Regions from separate parts of the Homo sapiens genome. Here region 2 is linked to region 1. Evidence: promoter capture Hi-C in 16 types of primary human blood cells and fetal thymus (Javierre and others, 2016). All regions are on one chromosome and are shown on one strand. Each heading gives the region's core, a stretch centred on a gene start or on the middle of the fragment in contact. The rest is flanking DNA. Distances are from core to core; before and after follow the strand shown.

Evidence for each region. Contacts are between HindIII fragments. The CHiCAGO score rates a contact against its expected background, and 5 or more counts as called.
Region 2: a fragment that was not itself captured here is called in contact with the fragment with the promoter of NR1D2 in region 1 in 1 of 17 cell types (total CD8 T cells); the score reaches 6.1 in total CD8 T cells.

Annotation. Positions count from the first base shown.
Region 1 is chr3:23,943,500-23,946,729 of GRCh38, forward strand. It overlaps NR1D2 (nuclear receptor subfamily 1 group D member 2), which reads left to right and starts at 1,787. Exons shown (of 8, transcript NM_005126.5): 1 at 1,787-2,095. The coding sequence starts at 2,080. It overlaps LOC124909354 (a long non-coding RNA gene), which reads right to left and starts at 1,681. Exons shown (of 2, transcript XR_007095845.1): 1 at 156-1,681. It also overlaps a transcript of NKIRAS1 not described here. RefSeq lists silencers at 1,651-2,840, 2,337-2,878. The HindIII fragment of the contact is 14,696 bases long and covers 1-3,230 here.
Region 2 is chr3:25,624,260-25,627,489 of GRCh38, forward strand. It overlaps TOP2B (DNA topoisomerase II beta), which reads right to left. Exons shown (of 36, transcript NM_001330700.2): 16 at 2,928-3,037; 17 at 2,513-2,605; 18 at 2,301-2,415; 19 at 423-544; 20 at 38-186. Among named protein-coding and RNA genes, the nearest start is that of TOP2B, 39 kb to the right of the region's middle. The HindIII fragment of the contact is 750 bases long and covers 1,195-1,944 here.

The DNA of each region.
Region 1 (3,230 bases), core at 537-3,036:
GGATTACAGGCGTCAGCCCCCGCGCCCAGCCCAGTTTTGCCTTTTCTAGAATGTCGTATAGTTGGAATCATACAGTACACAGCCTTTTTAGAGTGGTATCCTCTTTTATGATTTCTTTTCTGCCTTCTAGACTGTTCATATTAACCTCATTTTACCTGTGTAGAAGTAGATGGTAGTTGATACATGAAAAAGCAAGCAAGCTACAAAGCGTGGCCTGGGGAACTCTTCCATCAGCATCACATGAGGGTGATAAATTCCAGAAGTAGGGAAGAATAGAGGGCTACCGTGATTAGGGAACTGTGTTTAGAAGGGTTTGGGTATCAAGACAGCCTTGGAAAGAGAAGCAGGACCCACATCTGTGCAGGGCGAAGCAGGTCAGGTTAAGTCGTTGAATTTTTTCAAAGTGTAACACGAAGCCATTGGAGGGTTTTCAGCAGAGTAATCAGATCTTATTTACATTTTAAAAATAATACTTTGACTGCTGGGGAGAAGTGACTGTAGGAGGACCCAAGAAGCACTCTCCTAGTTAGGGAACCAGAGCAGTAGCTGAGGCAAGAGATAATGGTTTGCTCTAGCAATACCAACGGTGAGAAACAGGGATTGAACATATTTTGAAGGTAGAATAGCTCAGACTTGCTAATGGATTGAATGGAGAATAAAAGGCTGTGAGAGTGTTAGGAGAGAAACATAATTTTGCTGGCTTCAGGAACTTGCAGATTTACCAAAACAGTAAATATTGATATGGTGAAGAAACCTGGGGGGTGGGGAAATAGGGTGTTGCACATGTAAATATGTCTTCCACGTGACATTTTCCCCACCTTCTATAGTGAAGAATTTCAGAGCAAACTGGAAAGAGTTTTACAAGCAACACCCATATCCCCATCGCCTAAGTTTAACATCTTACCATATCATCTATTCATGCCTCTATCAGCCCATCTTACTTCAGTAATGCGTTTAAATTGCGGGCATCAATGCACTTTCCTCAGAATTCACCTCAGCACGCATACAATTTATGTCTAGCTTTTTTCTTTTGATCTAAAATTTACATTCAAGGTGAAACGCCCAGATCTTGACTGCACATTAGCTGAGTTCGGACACACGCGTACACCCGTCTAAAATCTGAGATGCAAAAAAGCGGCATAATCAAACGGGCTGCTGGATGTAGGAATCTGGAGATTAGAAGAGAGGTCTTGGCTTGAAATATAAATCTGGGAATCACAAGAACATAGGTCTACTTAAGCTATGAGATTGGATAAAATCACCTAGAGGGTGCAGAGGGAAAGGGAAGGGTCTGTGCCCTCAGAGACCAGCGTTTGGAGGTCGGTCGGGTGGGAGCGGGGGGTGGGGGTGGGGGGCGCAAGGGTTGAGCAAGCCCGAACCAGCCGGCCCAGCCGGGGTCCTGAGAATCACCCTTGCTCGGCGCCAAGCCACCGCTTTGACCTAAGAGCCACCAGGTTGGGGGGCAGGGCGTGGAGAGGACTCCCGGCCAGAGGCGGGAAAGGCAGCCGGGAGGAGAGGAAAGAGGAGGAGGAGGGGAGGAATATGCGGCGGAGGGAAACGGAGAAGAGGTTTACGGCACGGAGGGGAAAAACGAAGGAAGAGGAGGGGCTCGGCAAGGAGAAGGAAGGGGAGAAGGGGGAAGCGCAGGAGAAAAGGGTAGCCGGGGAGCCGGGAAGCGGGCGGGAGGGAGGGGAGCGGCGGGGCGGAGGTCGCCGCAGCGGCCGGCCGAGGGCGGGCGGAGGGAGGGGGTGTGTGCGCGGGTCACATGGTCGCGGCTGCCCTCCCCGTCAGCCGCCCTCGCCGCCGCGGTGCGCTGGCTGCAGGAAGCCGCCGCGCCGCCGCTTTTGTTGTCAGGGACCCAGCGAGGAGCGCCGCTCGCCGGCCGCCGCCACCCTCTCTCGCTGCAGCCTGCTGTGCGCTGCACGGCCTGGGGCCCGGGAGCCCCGCCCGCTCTGCCCATGAGGGGGCCCCGCGACCACCGCTGCTTCCAGCCCGGGGCGGCGCGGCGCTGAGGCGGCGGCGGCGGCGCTGCCCCCTCTGCGGGAAGCGGGCGGCCCCGGCCGCCTCCGCGAGGGCACCATGGAGGTGAATGCAGGTAAGAACCGGACTGCGGCGGGTGGGGGATGGCCGGAGGGAGCGCTCAGAGCCCGCGGGGCACTTTGGGGGGCGGCGGCAGGGGGTGTCCCCATGGCCGGTGGGGCGGGGTGGGCTGCTGCGCGCCGCGTGTCCGCCTCTGGCTCGGTTCCCATCGCCCCCCGGGCCGCCCGGCGCCCGCCCTCTTGTCTCCCTGCAAAGCCGCAGCGCGGCCTGCCGGCGCCCGGCCCGGCCCCCCCCTCACATGGCCCGGCCGCGCGAGCCACGTGCGCGCTGTGTTTACGTTCGGCGGCGCGCGGGCGCCGGTTGGCTGGGCGGGCGCGTGACGCGGCATTACATAATGGGCGCTGAGGCGGCGGCGGCGGGCGGGGACACGTGAGGCCGCTCGGCTCCCTGACCCACATTCCCCGGGGCCGCAGGGACACGTGGGGGCGGGGGCGCGCGCGCGCGCGCTGGCTGGGAGCGCCGCAGCCTCCCGGGAGGCTCCGCCCCTTTGGAAGCCTCGGGGCAGTGACGTCGCCGCGATTCCCTCCTCCCCCGCGGGGTTGCACACTGCGGAGGAGGCCGCGCGTGCGCGCCCGCTGAGCCCCCGCGGCGGGGCGTCCCCGAAGCGGGCGCTGACACCGCAGTGCACCGGACGCCGCACGCTCTTTTCGCGAGGTGACCCCAAGGCGCGGACCCCGCGCAAACCAAACGAACCGGCGCCTGGGGAGGCTGGTAGCTGCATACCTTGCAGATTCCGAGGAGGAAGTGCAGGACGAGGGCGTGCTGCAGGCCGGAGGAGGCGCCTCGGGGAAGGCGTGGGGCTTTCCCGAAGGGATACGCTCGAAGGAGCTCTGAGGTGCTTCGATCCCGAGCGACTCCCCGCAGACTGGGTAGCACCGCCCCTGTTAGGATGCCGTCTGTTTACAAAAAAAACCGTTTGCTCTAGGACGCGACCTGTCTCATACACACACAGTCTTAAAAACTGCTTCCAGATCCCTTCGGGCTGGAGTTTTCCAGTAAACGGGTCACACCCGCAGCTGAGCGTGCAGCTCACGTATGGTCAGGATGACTCAGGTGATCATAGGTGACTCCAACACCATATGTAAGACTGGACATTCTTCATTTAAATTAAAAAAAAATTAACCTGTGGG
Region 2 (3,230 bases), core at 320-2,819, 1.7 Mb after region 1:
AATCAAACTTTATACCATTATATCAGCAAATATTTACCTTAACATTGTGAAAATATAACGAGGGCTTGCAGCATCTTTGCCACCATGAAGCCGAGTTCCAAACTGACCAATAGGCTGAAGCAAGTTAATGTTGTTACTTCCCACAAAGTTCTGAGCCAAATTCACAATAGTCATCATCAATGCTTGCTATACAACAGAAGAAGGCAGAACATAACATTAATATTCTAAATTTTCTATAATTACTCCCCAACTTGAATTAAAATCCAAGTGAAGAATAAAGGCTTTAGAATCTCACTAATCTGTATATTCTCTTAATTCTTTTACATTTCCAAAGACTTTACTAAAGGAAAAATACTATGTGTAATTATCATTCTTCAAGACAATAATTACAGTTCTCAATTGATTCCAATCTTAATGCTTACTTCTCCATGATGATAAGCCGACATCTCAGCAACAGAGCCAGCCAACTGGGCAACTTTTACTTCACGTTTATCATTCCTCTTGAAACAGGTAAATAAAACTTTCCGCTGGCCAGGTTTAAAGCCTATTTTTAAAAGAGCTCTTTTAAAATGTTACTTCAAGATATAGTTGTAACAATTCAGGGGAATAAAGCAAAGATACAATTTGCTTTTCAAGAACACCAGTAAAATTGTTACTTGAGATTCTGTAACAAAGTGAGTACATACTAACACGTTTGTTTTGTTTGTTTGTTTTTTCCTAGAAAGCCATCTGCAGGTATATACTAAGATGTTTTTATGCCATCTCCATCTACTCCAAAAGTGAACTGCCAATTGAAAGACAACATTCTGGCCTTAAAGAATCACCTAGTGGTACCAAACTCCTTTAACAGTAGTTTCCAAACACTCAAACAACCAAAACGCCATTTGTAGCTAACTAAATTGCCAGCATGCCATCAAGGAGCCTGAAATCTATTCTAAGTATCCCACATCAGGAAAACCCTTATAAAAAGCGATTTATTGTGGTAGTGAAGAATAAAGGCTTTAGAATCTCACTAATCTGTATATTCTTCTCAACTTGGCCATTTACCATGTGACTAAGCAAATAACTAGTAAGTCTATGTCCTCATCCAAGTAATAGAAATAATTACTTTCTTAATATAGTTTTCATAAGGATTGCATGAAACAATGTGAGCAAATCACTCTGCTCCCTTACCATTCTTCTTGCTCTAGGCCAAGCTTGTCCAACCCGTGGCCCGTGGGCTGCATGTGGCCCAACACAAATTTGTCAGTTTTCTTAAAACATCATGAGGTTTTTTGTTTGTTTGTTTTTGCGATTATTTTTGTTTTTTGGTTTTTTTGCAATTATTTTTGTTTTTTGTTTGTTTTTGTTTTAAGCTCATCAGCTATCGTTAGTGTTAGTGTATTTTTACATGTGGCCCAAGACAATTCTTCCTCTTCCAATGTGGCCCAGGGAAGCCAAAAGGTTAGACACCCTGGCTCTAGGCCAATAAGCACAGTAACAATCTTTTCAGTATATGCTATCACTGTAATCATACTGGACCCAGAGTATGGTAAAAACATGAGGATGATAAAATATGGCAACTTCTTTAAGAATTTTGTAATCTAATTCTAGAGGCAAAATGAACAAAGGTAAAATAAGAGGTACATAATAATTGGTATAGAAGTTTAGGTATCTAAGACCAATTTAGAGTAGAATTGCTAGGAAGGCTTCATAGAAGAAAGGCGATTTGTGGCTAGAACTTGAGGGATAGGTAGAAACATCTGCTATTACCAGAAAAGCCAAGCAATACAAAGATCAACAAACTTCATAAAGGTTATGAGAAAAAAAAAAGTTCTAGATAGAAGATCAAAATCTGCTTCAACTAACGAGAAATAGTTTCTAAATTTTTTTCAAATTAGAAATAGTTCCTAAATTTTTTTCAAGTTAAGTTAAAGCATTAGGCTTTGGGTAATACAGAATAAAAGCTTTTTAAAATTTAATCTCTGATAAATATTTTAGAAATTATCAAAGTTCCATTTTACTTTTTTAGAAAATCTGCAGACAACTTGGGCAAAAGCTTTAAGACTTTTAAAGTTAATTTTCCTGAAAAACTCGGAAAAGGTTTAAAAGTTTCAAATTAAGGAATATTAAAGATTTCAGCACTATGAAAACATAAAACAAAAGCAAAATCAAAAAGGCCTTAAATTCCTCTGAATAAGCTCTTCATATACAAGATTTAAAGTAAGAATTTTAATATGTATCATAAGGATGGCTTAAAGTACATGAAATTAAACTATAGTAAATAACATTAAAAAATGAGGTTTTTAAATATTACTCACCATCAACAAGAGATGGTATAGATCTTTCATTGTCTGAGTTTGAGAAGAGAATCAATTCCTTGTTGATGAAATCATTATAAGTCAAATGCTTTGTTGCAGTACCATATAAAAATTGCTAAGAGAAAAGTTATATAGCAATATTATCATTATTACTGCATGAATTCTAGTCTCTCTCTCCTTCTTTCCCCAGGTCACCACTCTTTAAGACTAACCTCTGGTAAGCCATGTAGCCTACGCTGTCTCCGGTCTTCCATAAAATTTGTTAACCATTCTTTTCTGTCATCAATCTTCTTCTTACTAAATGCCTGAAAGATTCCAGGTAACGATTTTGCACATTAAAAATAAAATAAATTTTATTACAAAATTAAAATGTATAAGTGGCCAATAACTAATTCTTAATTTCTGGAAAATTAGGTTATTTTACAATATTTTAATCAAAAACACATTTAAACTAAGGTCTTTCAATTAAAGAAGTTTATACAAGCACAGCATCATCTGGGGGAAAAATTAAAATTAACTAGCTTGAGCATTCAAAAGAGACTTATCATAGGGAACCAGGACTGGGAGGAAAGGAATAGAAGGTAGGGGGATGGCTAACAAAAGCTTTTAAAAAATTAACTTAATTACCAAGGTAATGGCAGCATCATCTTCAGGACCAGCATATCTAAACAAGATGCGATGCCTTTCCATATCAGCAAAATATTCCTTTGCTTCTTTAGCTGTACTAGTACCCAATCCTGCACAATTTTAAAAATAAAAGTGAGTCATGAATATCAATGTCTGTTTAAAACCATCAAGTAAAAAGCTGGTGGAAAAGTTGTAATAGATGGATCAAGCTGGCAACACCTATACTAAGTGATCAATCTTAATAAGCAACTAAAGACAAAGTAGACATTAGATGCTTCCTGATGAAAGCACACAACGCTACCT